Linked DNA regions of Homo sapiens: regions 2 and 3 are each linked to region 1. The links are contacts of gene promoters, found by promoter capture Hi-C in blood cells and fetal thymus (Javierre and others, 2016). All regions are on one chromosome and are shown on one strand. The core of a region is centred on a gene start or on the middle of the fragment in contact, and the rest is flanking DNA. Distances in the headings are between cores, read along the strand shown.

The links. The method cuts DNA at HindIII sites, captures the fragments that hold promoters and counts their contacts. A CHiCAGO score of 5 or more calls a contact.
Region 2: the fragment with the promoter of ATP2A2 here is called in contact with the fragment with the promoter of BRAP in region 1 in 1 of 17 cell types (fetal thymus); the score reaches 5.3 in fetal thymus.
Region 3: a contact is called between the fragment with the promoter of FAM216A here and the fragment with the promoter of BRAP in region 1, in 1 of 17 cell types (fetal thymus). The highest score is 7.3, in fetal thymus.

Annotation. Positions count from the first base shown.
Region 1 is chr12:111,684,115-111,688,174 of GRCh38, forward strand. It overlaps BRAP (BRCA1 associated protein), which reads right to left and starts at 1,842. Exons shown (of 12, transcript NM_006768.5): 1 at 1,597-1,842. The coding sequence starts at 1,678. ACAD10 (acyl-CoA dehydrogenase family member 10) reads left to right here and starts at 1,939. Exons shown (of 21, transcript NM_025247.6): 1 at 1,939-2,125. RefSeq lists enhancers at 165-866, 867-1,568, 1,569-2,270 and a silencer at 1,615-1,714. The HindIII fragment of the contact is 2,811 bases long and covers 1,045-3,855 here.
Region 2 is chr12:110,279,521-110,283,580 of GRCh38, forward strand. It overlaps ATP2A2 (ATPase sarcoplasmic/endoplasmic reticulum Ca2+ transporting 2), which reads left to right and starts at 1,727. Exons shown (of 20, transcript NM_170665.4): 1 at 1,727-2,387; 2 at 3,084-3,101; 3 at 3,193-3,275. The coding sequence starts at 2,270. RefSeq lists enhancers at 1,235-1,304, 2,422-3,176 and silencers at 1,395-1,994, 2,085-2,594. The HindIII fragment of the contact is 3,608 bases long and covers 1-2,360 here.
Region 3 is chr12:110,466,990-110,471,049 of GRCh38, forward strand. FAM216A (family with sequence similarity 216 member A) reads left to right here and starts at 1,856. Exons shown (of 7, transcript NM_013300.3): 1 at 1,856-2,029. The coding sequence starts at 1,887. GPN3 (GPN-loop GTPase 3) reads right to left here and starts at 1,268. Exons shown (of 8, transcript NM_016301.4): 1 at 1,167-1,268. The coding sequence starts at 1,214. LOC124903016 (a long non-coding RNA gene) reads right to left here. Exons shown (of 3, transcript XR_007063459.1): 2 at 3,650-3,827; 3 at 3,300-3,462. RefSeq lists enhancers at 1,380-1,509, 2,430-2,599 and a silencer at 1,920-2,229. The HindIII fragment of the contact is 771 bases long and covers 1,472-2,242 here.

The DNA.
Region 1 (4,060 bases), core at 592-3,091:
GGAATTTGGAGACTTAACTGAAATATCCCTAATACATGCTCTGTCAGGGCAGGGACAAGGCCTGTTTTGCCCACCACTGTATTCCCAGCCCTTATACCACAGTGCCGAGCACACAGAGGAAGCCCTCTAAATGTTTGATGAATAAATGACTACATGACTGACCCATGCAGATGTCTATATGCGGCTAATATCAATTTAGCTGACTCTCAGAACTCAGAAGCCACTTTTAGCCTTTGGAAAGGTGCTCATAAGCTATAAAGTCATATTCAATCTTTAATTTGCAGCTTCAAAGGTCACGTCCTCAGGAAGTTCCCAATGACACCATCCCTACCTGCCCCCATCCCTCTCTCCAAACCAAACACATCTTCTTGTAATACTTTCCCAAATTGTTTCTCCTTTCCTTCACAGCACTTACCACAGTTGTAATTCTACACATATTCTGCACTTATTTAATTCATCTGTTTCCTCCATGATACTGCTGGTGCCATTAAAACAGAGACGCTGTCTGATTCAGCACACAAGGAAGGCTCCAGCAGATATGAGCATAAGTTTTTTTTTTGTTTTTTTTTTTGAAATGGACTTTATCTCTTGTCGCCCAGGCTGGAGTGCAGTGCCACAATCTTGGCTCACCGCAACCTCCACCTCCCGGGTTCAAGCGATTCTCCTGCCTCAGCCTCCCCAGTAGCTGGGATTACAGGCACCTGTCACCACGCCCAGCTAATTTTTGTATTTTTAGTACAGACAGGGTTTCACCATGTTGGCCAGGCTGGTCTTGAACTCTCAACCTCAGGTGACCCGCCCGCCTCGGCCTCCCAAAGTGTGAGGATTACAGGCGTGAGCCACCGCGCCCGGCCAAGTATTTCTTGAATGAATGTTAGTTAATTATCTGAGGACCAAGGAACAGAGCCAGAGCTGCATTCCCCACTAAGGAGCTTCCTCACTTGTGTTAATGGTGTAAAAAGCTCAGACTCAAGTCCAGCTCACTGAGTTAGAATCCCAGTTTCACCCATTACAGATAACCTTGGGCAAATCAATTAATCACTAAGCTTCAGTTTCCCAATGTGTAAGAGGTACATGTCACATCCATCTGCCTCTTAGGGCTGTTGCAAAGATAATTAAAGAATACAATACACAAAAGGTGCTTAGTACAGTGCTGGGATATAGGAAGTGTCCAAATTTTAGTTATGACTATGGTTAGGGGGCACTTCAATGGATATCGTTCCAAAAGGGAACAATTTAATTAACCCAGGGACCGTCCAGCGTTGCTGGGGACCCAGTCCCTGCCTTTACGAAGCCCATAGGGAAGCAAGTGAGACAAACACACCACTCGACTATCTCGAGAGGGAGACGCGCCAGGTATAAACTAAATGCCCTCAGACGGCACAGGGAGGGAGGTTCGGGGCAGGGCTTCCCTGAGATAACAAACGGGAAGGCCTCTCAAAGGCGGATGGGAAAGAGAGGGATCCCGATTACCTCTCCGTGTCTTCCTGGGCAACAGCCCTCGCCGCGGGCTTTTCCCGGGCCAGTGCTTTGGGAAGGGAAGCCCTCCGGGCCCAGACCCGGCTACAGGGAATGCGGCGAGGCCGCGGGACTCACCCGCGGCGCTGAAGCCGAAGCCGGCGGGGACAGGCGAGTGTTCCGCGAGCTCCAATCGGATAACAACCAGTGACACACTCATAGGGCAGGCGCTGGCCGGCGCGGGCCCCGGCGGGCTCAGGCGAGGCTGGAAGGCGAGCCGAGAGGCCGAGCGGCCCGGGGCCGGCAGCGCCGCCACCACCTCAATGCAGTTGCCGCCGCCTCAGCAGCAGCAGCTCCTCGAACAGCCCTCGGAGCCACAACAACCTCCACTTCCGCCTCCCGGCCGCCGTCGCTGACCTGCGGTTTACGCATGCGCGCAGGACCGCGCACAGCGATTGGGCGGCGTGGCAGGGGTCACCCACTGCTCTTCCGGACGCAATTTTGAGGAGGTCGGAGCGGAAGGACGTCGTGGAGATTGCTTGCGCTGGGGTGCCACACTTAGGCTGAGCTGCAGGTTTTCGCACAGTCGCGAGTTAACCTCTGCTTGCTCCAGAGGCCTCGTCCTAATCCACCTCGGCTGACGGCGCGGGATCCCTGGCTCCGCGAGGTCTCCGAATTGTCCGAGCTATCTGCTATGCAGAACTTTGCCCCTTTTGTTGTGTTTGACTCCTGTCTCTAACCCTAGTCTGGATGGTTTTGTTTCTGTCCCACTTTACAGATAGGTACAACGAGGCTCAGAGAGGTGAAGTTCCTTCTAAGGGGCCGTAGAGAGTGGAGAGTCGATCGCTGTTCAGATAGCGATCTGGCTGGGCGCGGTGGCTCACGCCTGTAATCCCAGCCCAGAGGCTTAGGCGGGCGAATCACCTCAGGTCAGCAGTTCGAGACCAACCTGGCCAACATGGTGAAACCTCGTCTCTACTGAACATACAAAAAATTAGCCGGGCTTGGTGGCGCGCGTCTGTAGTCCAAGCTACTTGGGAGGCTGAGACAGGAGAATCGCTTGAACCCGGGAGGCGGAGGTTGCAGTGAGTCGAGATAGTGCTAGTGCACTCCCGCCTGGGCAACAAGAGCGAAACTCCGTCTCAAAAAAAAGAGAGAAAAGATGGTGATCTGCTGGTTACGAGCATAGTGCTGCAGTTAGACCGGGGTCCTCCTCCCCACCCTGTCACTTCACAAATGTTTACTGAGAGTCTAGACACCCTTGGGATGCTTGAGATACGTTGGCGTATAAGATAAACACAGTTCCTGTCCGTACTATGAGGTTGACCTACATCAGCAGTTGTGCAGTCTTGAACTAGTATAGTCATTGCATAAAGTTGGCATGATATCATGTCCTCATGCAGTTGTGAGGATGAAATGGAATTATGTATATGGAGATAACATTAGCTTTTCTGAGGCTCAGCATTCTTTCCAGTATGTCAGAGTGGCTTTTGTATGTAGATACTGACACAATCAATGCATATGGGACACATACATGACAGGATGCTACTCTAGGTACATTGTATAATGATACATATGTAAGTACATAGTACATTCTAGATGTGTGTGTGTGTGGACATAGTGCGTTCTAGATGTGTGTGTATCTGGACTATGACATGACCACAAGATACATGCGTATATAGATCTTGTGACTACATCCTATGAAATACGTTTCCATATGCCCTGTTTAAATCAGGGTTTCTCAACTCTGCACTATTAACATTTTGGGTCCTGATTATTCTTTTTTGTTTTTGGCAAGGGGGCGGGGTGTCCTGAGCATTGTAGAGTGTTTAGAAACATCCCTGGCCTGACCCACTAGATGTCAGTAGCACCTCTCCCCAGGTGGTGACAACCAATAATGTCTCTGGACCTTTCCAGATGTCTCCTTGGGGTTAGAAAACATAACCCTGTTGAAGAATCACAGGGTTATGTGAAAGTGCATAAACCATACACACATACTGTATGCATAAAACCTATGAGACCTCTTGTGAACTTTTTTAGTATATTACTATAGTAGATAACATTTCAACATGTGCCAGGTACTAATTTGAGTGTTTCATATACCTTGTGTCATGCAATGGTCACAACAACTTTATGAAACTGGTACTATGTCCCTGTTCTACAGAGGAGTAACCTGAGGCTTGGAGGAAGAGTAACTGGCTCAGGATTTCACAGGTAGTAGTGGCAGAGCTGGAACTGAAATTCAGGCAATCTGAATCCAGAACGAACATTCTTTATCTCTTTACCAAACAAACCTTTTTTTTTTTTTGTATTTTGAGACGGAGTCTCACTCTGTCGCCCAGGCTGGAGTGCAGTGGTGCCATCTCGGCTCACTGCAACCTCGGCTTCCTGGGTTCAAGCTTCCTGCCTCAGTCTCCCAAGTAGCTGGGACTACAGGCACACAGCACTGCACCCAGCTGATTTTTGTATTTTTTTTTAGAGATAGGGTTTCACCATGTTGGTCAGACTTGTCTCGAACTCCTGACCTTGTGATCCGCCCACTTCGGCCTCCCAAAGTGCTGGGATGACAGGCGTGAGCCACCGCGCCCGGCCCCCCCAAAGG
Region 2 (4,060 bases), core at 477-2,976, 1.4 Mb before region 1:
AGATCTGTGGGAAGAGCATTCCATACAAAGGCTGAGGTCAGGAACTCCTCCAGAAGCTCATAATTGCACCAGAGGTGCTTACAACCCCAAGCAGTGACAGTGGCACAGAATATTCAACATCAAATGCCTAAGCTAATTTCCAGGCTGAGAAAGGTAAACCATCCTTCTCCTGCCTGCAGTGCTTCTATCGGTCCTGAAAGAGACAGAGGAGGTAAGGGAGAAGAATTGGTACGAAATGGTGCAGAGCTGGTCTCAGAGGGCAACAACAGCCAGCCCTCCATGACCACACTCCCACCGTGCACTCACGTGCCCCTCTTGAAGCGGCTCTGATCCTGTGACCTAACCAGTTTCCACCTGGCTTCTCTCAGTGCGTTGCCATATAGTATAATTTTTTGTTTGTTTGTTTCGTGTAGGGTTTTGTTGGTTCTTTTCCAAGTATCAATCAAAACTACATGCCAACGTCCACTCCTTGGAAATAATTAAATGACATGACGTGCCTGATTTTTTCAGCTGGTGATGCACTGTAATTTGCATCTGCTGAAGGAATTTATCTTAAGTCCTGAAGCCCAGCCACTTGAGACAACTGAGGTGATTTTTCTGCTCTGCTTTTGCTCATGCGGATGGTGCGTTATTGTTAAACACAAAAGTGGACTAATTGCTTCATTCTGCAACCTACTCCGTGAAGAAAGCTGCTCTTCTTTGTGAAGAGAATATGTTCATGTTTTGTTCATGAATTCCATGCAATTTCCCATCCCCTTGTTAAGTAATGTAGCTTCTTTATATTGGCAAAATTCCCTTTATCTTGCTGTGACCTGCGCTTTGTCCTCCCGAGCAGAGCAAATCATCTGTGGTTTAAGAGCAGCTTTGGATTCAAGTCCCCTTTTCTCCTGTCGAGGGAAGTGAGTCTATGAAATGGCCTTCATCTGAAAGCCACAGCGAAGCACCTCCTAGCCCAAGTCTAGCTGCTGTGTGGCAGCTCCAGCGGCGTGAACTGTGACTGCCCTGCAGACACCTATCAAGCGCTGCGTCAGCTATTAATAATAAAATCAACTCTTCTCCCTCCCCCCCGCGAGGGGGGTTCCCTCGTCAGGGCCCAGAACCCGCTGGGGAAGAATCGGGGCTGGCGTGCGAAGGAGCTGGCGGCAGGGGGTGTAGGATGCGGTGTTCCCGAGGCGACAGATGAAGGATTTGGGTTGTGTGGGAAGTGAACTGCGGAATTCCTCCCCTTGGTTTCTGAGGGGGGCTCTGAAGGAGCCAGATTAGGATGCAGAGCGCAGCCCGGGCGACCGAGGGCGAGGAGGCGAGCCAAGGACATCAGCCCGAGGGCGCCTCGAGACGCCCCGCGTGGACCGCGCTCCCAGCTCCTCGGCCTCGCCTTCCAACCATCCGCCCACCGGCCCCAGAGCAGCGTGCCCACTGTGAGCGCCCCACCCTGCGTCTGCAGGTGGGTGGGTCAGAGAACCGCAGGCACAGAAGAGGGTACCCAGCTTCCCCTCCGCCAGCCCCGCGACCGCGGCGCGCGCGGCCTCGATCCGGGTTCCTAGGGGCGGCGCGCGGGAGGGGGCGGGGCCTGCGCGGCAGCGTGGGCGCCAGGCGCGCGGGAGGAGGGAGCCGGGAGGAGGGGGCGGGGCCGCGCCGCCCGCGCCGCGCTGGGCGCTCTCGGCCAATGAGCGGCGTCCACATGCCGCGGCGGCGGCGAAAGGGGAGGCAGCGGCCGATAAATGCTATTAGAGCAGCCGCCGCGGAGCCGTCCCCGACGCCACCTCCTTTTCCTTCGCCGCAGTTTCCTCCGCCGCTGTCGGGCGTGCGGCGCTGAGGGACCCGGGCGAGCGCGCCGCGCACCGCCCCGCCGGCTCGCCTCCCTCGCCGCGTTCCGCCCTCAGTGGTCTGCCGGGCGCCCCCTCCTCCGGCCCGGGCGGGGCCTCTGATCGCCTCAAGAGAGCGGGGAGGGGGCTCGGGGGCCGCGGCCTGCCCTCCCGGCGGGCGGCTGAGGGCGAGGGAGGCCCTCCCTTCTGGCGAGGGGAGGGAGGGTGGGTCAGGAGCCCCCAACCCGCCCTGCGGAGCTCGGGGCCGCGCGAGGGGCGGTTGTCTGGGGGAGGGGGCGCGGGGTGATTCAGCGCCCGGCGAGGCGGAAGCGGCCGCAAGAGGAGGAGGGGAGAGCCCGTCCGCGCCTGGGCTCCCGGGGTGGCACGAGCCCGCGGCCGGAGTGCGAGGCGGAGGCGAGGAGGCCGCGGGGACGGGAGGCGAGGCCGGCCGGGCCCCCGAAGCCATGGAGAACGCGCACACCAAGACGGTGGAGGAGGTGCTGGGCCACTTCGGCGTCAACGAGAGTACGGGGCTGAGCCTGGAACAGGTCAAGAAGCTTAAGGAGAGATGGGGCTCCAACGGTAGGTGCAGGGCGCTCCGCTGCAGGGGCCCGGCGCGGCCGGGAGAGCCAGGGAAGATGGCTGACCGGGCTCCACCTCGTGGGCTTCGGCTCCGCGCCCGCCGACAGCTGCGGGCGGAGGGTCGGGCCAGCGCGCCGGCCCCGCGGGAGAGAAAGGGGCTGCGGTCCTCGCCTCGCCTTCCCTGGACCTCTTCGCTTCTCGGGCCCTCGACCTTTTCGGCGCGCAAGGCTCGGAGGCTTCTCTCCAGCAGCAGCCGGCCCCGGTGGAGGGAGGGACGTGGCTTCTGCAGCTAGGTTGAGCCCGGCAAGACGTTTTCTCGTCCCCTGCCGATTTATGAGGAGTCGAGGTCGTTGGAAGGCCTCTGACCGTTCTTGTCCTACCCAAAGTTACACATCTGGCAGAAGTGATGACATCGCTGAAACCACTCCTAGGTTCAGGAGCCCGAAGTGATTTCACGCTTAGGGCTAGACCTCAGGCCATTGATTACAAAGAGTGCATGCTTCCTTGAGATATCTTCGTGGTATGCCCTCTGCTAAAAAAATCGGATATTCTTATAGCTAGGTCTGTGTTTTAAAGATATTGATGCTTAGAATTGTAGCAGTTCTTTTTAGAAAAACGAAGTGCTAAAATGTCTCTCTCTTTTTTTTTTTAACCTCCCTCTTGACACATTGCTTGACGAATTTCTACATTCTACAGAGTTACCGGCTGAAGAAGGTAATCTTAACATGCTGTTTCTGTTTTTTTTCCTCTGTTGGTGTGCTGATGGTAAGATGACAGTTAAAACACATGTGTTTGTTTCTTACAGGAAAAACCTTGCTGGAACTTGTGATTGAGCAGTTTGAAGACTTGCTAGTTAGGATTTTATTACTGGCAGCATGTATATCTTTTGTAAGTATAAAAAAATTTATTTTCTTTCCCCCCAAAAGCTGAAAGTATTCCATAGATAAATCAGAAAACAAATGATGTCCATTGGGTGAAAACATATTTGGAGTTGCAAGCTGTGTCTCTATGTTTAAAAACAATCTGGGCATTTTAAAATTACAAAACAAAACACTTGAAGCCATTGGTATTCAGAAAATAGATGCCTGACATTTACAGTGTGGTTAGGAGTTGTCCCAGAGTGTGGCATGGTCTTAGAAATTCTTGTGGTTTATCAGCTTTTAATATCAAAAAGTTCTTTTCTGGGAAGCCTTTAATGTTTTGGGTTCTTCCATTGTTATCGTGTTGTAAGATCATACTAAGATGATGTTGGACTCTTTGTAGTCTGTAAATAGAACTTACAAAAGGAATATTCCAGTTGCTTTCCCTTCCTGGTAATGGCAAGGTGACAGTTGTTCCTGACGGTGACAAGAATGATGACGGCTGTGATGGCACCCTTGTTGACCAAATTTGGTCACTGACCTTTAGGGTGGTATATTTATCTAAATTGGACCCCTGTCTTAAGTGATTCTTAGGTTGAAAGAACAAGGTTTAGTACAGTTGGTTCTAGATCTTAAAGGAAAAAAACCAGCATGGTGTTTTTTCTTGTTCTGTGTGTGCTTACCCACTTGAGTGCTATATGGTTGCTAAGAAACTAGTGAAATGCAAAGAACTACAGCAGAAAAAGGGTGTTGGGGTGGCAAGTATATTTCTAGGTTTTTAACTTTTTTTTAAATGTTCGGTATTAATTTTTT
Region 3 (4,060 bases), core at 606-3,105, 1.2 Mb before region 1:
CACTTCTTCTTTTTTTTTTTTGCGACAGTACCTCTGTCACCCAGGCTGGAGTGCAGTGGCACGATCACCACTCACCACAGCCTCAACCTCCTGGGTTCAGGTAATCCTCCCACTTCAGCTTCCCGAGAAGCTGGGACTAGAGGTACCTGCCACCAGGCCTGGCTAATTTTTGCATTTTTTTGTAGAGACAGAGTTTCGCCGTGTTGCCAAGGCTGGTCCCAAACTCCTGGGCTCAGGCGATCCGTCCACCTCCATCTCCCAAAGTGATAGGATTACAGACGTGAGCCACCACGCCTGGCTATGTTTCCCACACATATGTTATTTGATCCATATCTTCACCATTCTCACTGTATTTGAATGTTCCTAACATTCCCTTAATATTTGTTTACAAGAAAAAATTTTATCCCTACTGTAAACTGAAAACCACTTATATTTGACATAACGTGAAATTAGACATAAAATTATATAAAATCTTTAAATGTTCTATTTTTAGCTAAATACAGGTGCCTATTAAAAGCTCTGAGACTAAGAACTGCTCTCTGAAAAGACCTGGGGATTAAAGAAGTGCTGAAGATACACACTAGCACCGAGCACAACTTCTCCTAAATGCGAAGTTGAGAACTGAAAGAGAAATGAAAAGGGAACAATTTCCCTAACACATTATCTGATGCTCCTTAATGTGGGGTCCATGTACCACCTACCACCTAAAAGCACCTTAAATACCAAAAGTCCATGTCCCAAGTTCTGAGAAACAGTAATTAATGAGACCCCACTTTACCCTCCTGGGAGCGAGACAGGGCCGGATTCTGGAGTTGAGACAAAACTGGATTTATATTTTTTTGCGGGGCAAAGAACTTAATTAACCTTTCTGTATCTCGTTTTCTGTAAAATGAGAAAAATGAGATCTCTCTCACAGGGTTGTTGTAGAAATAAGCGAGGCGTTTCATCTGCTGCCTGGGGCTTAAGTATACAATAAATATTAACAACTACCATTATTTCCCTTTCAAAACAACAACAAAAAAGAACGTGAAGCCAGACAGCAGAAATGAGTTGCGTGGGGTCTCAGGGTTCCCAGTACACACACCCGCCGGCTCACTCCCTCAGGACCCAATCTCCCGCCTTCCACGAACTCCTACTTTTCTCTCCTTGTCCCCGCAGATCCTCACCTTCCCGCTGCCCGCGGGGCCCATGACCAGCTGCGCATACCGAGGCATGTTGGCTCCCGGAGCCGCCCGCCACACTCCCTTAGCCTTCGCGCGACGCCCACTGAGCTCCGGGAAAGTGAAGTGCGAACCAATCGCAATCCACATTCTTTCTACGCCTCCAGTTCTACCACACCTCCTACTACGGGGCAGCCCGCGGGCCAAATCCCGTGAGAAACGCGTCCTGAGAAAAAAGGGGAGGGGCGAGGGAGAGGATTTGCGCGTGCGCAAAAGTAGTTGATGGAAATCGGCCGTTGGGATGCTGTCTAAGCTTGGATACCTGAGTAATAACGGACAACAGATAAAGCTCCGCATCCTTGCGCCACGTGCTTCGGTCCGTGGTTTGCGTGCAGACGTTTGACCTGTATGGTGACCCTCGCGATTTGCAAATGTGCTGAGGATCTGGAATACTGAAGTGGAAGGCACCTCTTGTTTTGGGGAGCATGTATATTTCCCTCCTGTGACGCACTGCTTCCACAGAGAGGTGCAAACGTGCAAACGCTCAGCGACCGCAGCGCTCCTGCCCCTCCCCCACCGTAACTCCGGGGTCGCGGATCTGCCCGCCCCGCTCTCCCGAAGCTGTTCGGGCAGTGTCCGAACGGCTTCGGAGGGGCGAGAAGCCAGCATCCGAGCCGCCTCTCCGGAATACCAGCAGCCTGACGCACGCGTGCTGTCGGGGGAGGGATGCTGGGACAGCTGCTCCCGCACACGGCTCGCGGTCTCGGCGCCGCGGAGATGCCCGGCCAGGGTCCGGGGTCCGACTGGACGGAGCGTAGCTCTTCTGCAGAGCCGCCCGCTGTGGCCGGGACCGAGGGTGGCGGCGGCGGGTGAGGTTGGGGGCCCCGGGGTAAGGGTGGCAGCATGGGGCCCCCGGGTCGTGAGGCCCCCGGGTCGTGAGCCCCGTGGAGGAGGGCTGCGGCCGACCTCTCGTCTCGGGGGCTGGCCCCGGTGCCCTCAAGTGAGAGGCGGGGAGCAGTTTTGTTGTGGACAGAGGGCAGAGGGGAGGACTGCCTCGCGGTTGAGGGAGGGTCTCTGAGGGAAGCTTCGGAGGAGCGTTTGGTGCAGTGGCCACGAGGTGACTGCGACAGTCGCCCGCGTGCATCTCTCTGCCCCGAGGGGGCGCTGCGAGCCCTGCTGGGACGTTTGCTGTCTGGCACAGGACTGTGTGTCCACCGAAAGGCGAGGCGGGAGGGACAGAGGAGGAAGATGTCCCCCGGTTCAACTGGGGGCATCCAGGCCCATAAACCAGTTCCTTCCCTCTAGTGACATGAGCCACCTTCCTGTCAAACGGGGATTTCTTTTTCTTTTTTTTTCTTTTCTTTCTTGTTTTTTGAGAGCGAGACAGTCTCGCTCTGTTGCCTAGGCTGGAATGCGGTGGTGCGATCTCAGCTCACTGCAACCTCAGCCTCCCAGGTTCAAGTGATTCTCCTGCCTCAGCCTCCCGAGTAGCTGGGATTACAGGCGCCTGCCACCACGCCCGGCTAATTTTTGTATTTTTAGTAGAGAGGTGGTTTCACCATGTTGGCTAGGCTTGTGTCGAACCCCTGACCTCAAGTGAGCCGCCCGCCTCGGCCTCCCAAATTGCTGGGATTACGGGGTGAACCATTGCGCCCGACCTCAAACGAGGATTTCTAATCGCCAATGAGACCAATGACTGAATATCCGAGGTGCCTTGATCTTGACATTTTCTTCACACTGAAGTTCCTTTTTTCACAAATCTATTTCGTTTTGAGCAGGTTTTTACACCTATTTCCTAGATAGTGAAGACAGCGAGCTGTTGAAGTCACTGCTGGAGACTCTACCTCCTCTTCCTCTCCCTACTTTATTCCCTAAAAGCAAGAACTGCGATATGTTTGCCGTTCAGTACAACCCGCAGTCAGGGCCCCTGTTGCACCCATGGCCATCCTTTTTGTTTTTTTTTTTTTGAGACAGAGTCTCGTTCTGTTGCCCAGGCTGGAGTGCAGTGGTGCCATCTCAGCTCACTGCAAGCTCCGCCTCCCGGGTTCACGCCATTCTCCTCCCTCAGCCTCTGGAGTAGCTGGGATTACAAGCGCCTGCCACCACGCCCGGCTACTTTTTTGTATTTTTAGTAGAGACGGGGCTTCACCGTGTTAGCCAGGATGGTCTCGATCTCCTGACCTCGTGATCCGCCCGCATGGCCGTCCTTTTTGTCTCTGGTGCTACTGAAGACTTCTTAAAGATGGGATGGAGTCTTGGGTTTCTTTTCTGTTCTTCACAGTCCTTGGCCGACTGCAGGATCCTGGTGTATCAGGAGATACGTGAATTTTTTTTTTTTTTTTTATTGAGACAGAGTCTCCCTCTGTCACCCAGGCTGGAGTGCAGTGTCACGATCTCAGCTAACTGCAACCTCCGCCTCCTGTGTTCAAGCAATTCTCCTGCCTCAGCCTCCCAAGTAGCTGGGACTACAGGTGTGCGCCACCACGTACCTGGCTAATTTTTGTATTTTTAGTAGAGATGGGCATGAGCCTGTAATCCTGGAAGGTTCTATTATGATCCCCACTTTATGGATGACAAAACAGGCACAAAGAGGTTGTTTGTCCTTTCCTTTTATCTCCGCCTGTCGTTCATCTCCATGCTTCCTTTAGTTTATCCAAACTCTTAAAACTACAATTAAAAAAAAAGACAGTATGCCCTTCAGTTTGGTTTAAGGAACCCCATTAAAAAACACAAACCAAGACTAATTTATGAAAAGCTTATATTCCCAGAAATACAAAATAAAATTTTCAAACTAGAATCAGGTTTATTATGCTACATGATACAATGTTGGCACTGGCAGGGGTCTTAAAAATCATCAATTCCGGTCATATTTACTAATCTGAAAGGGGAAGTGATCTGCC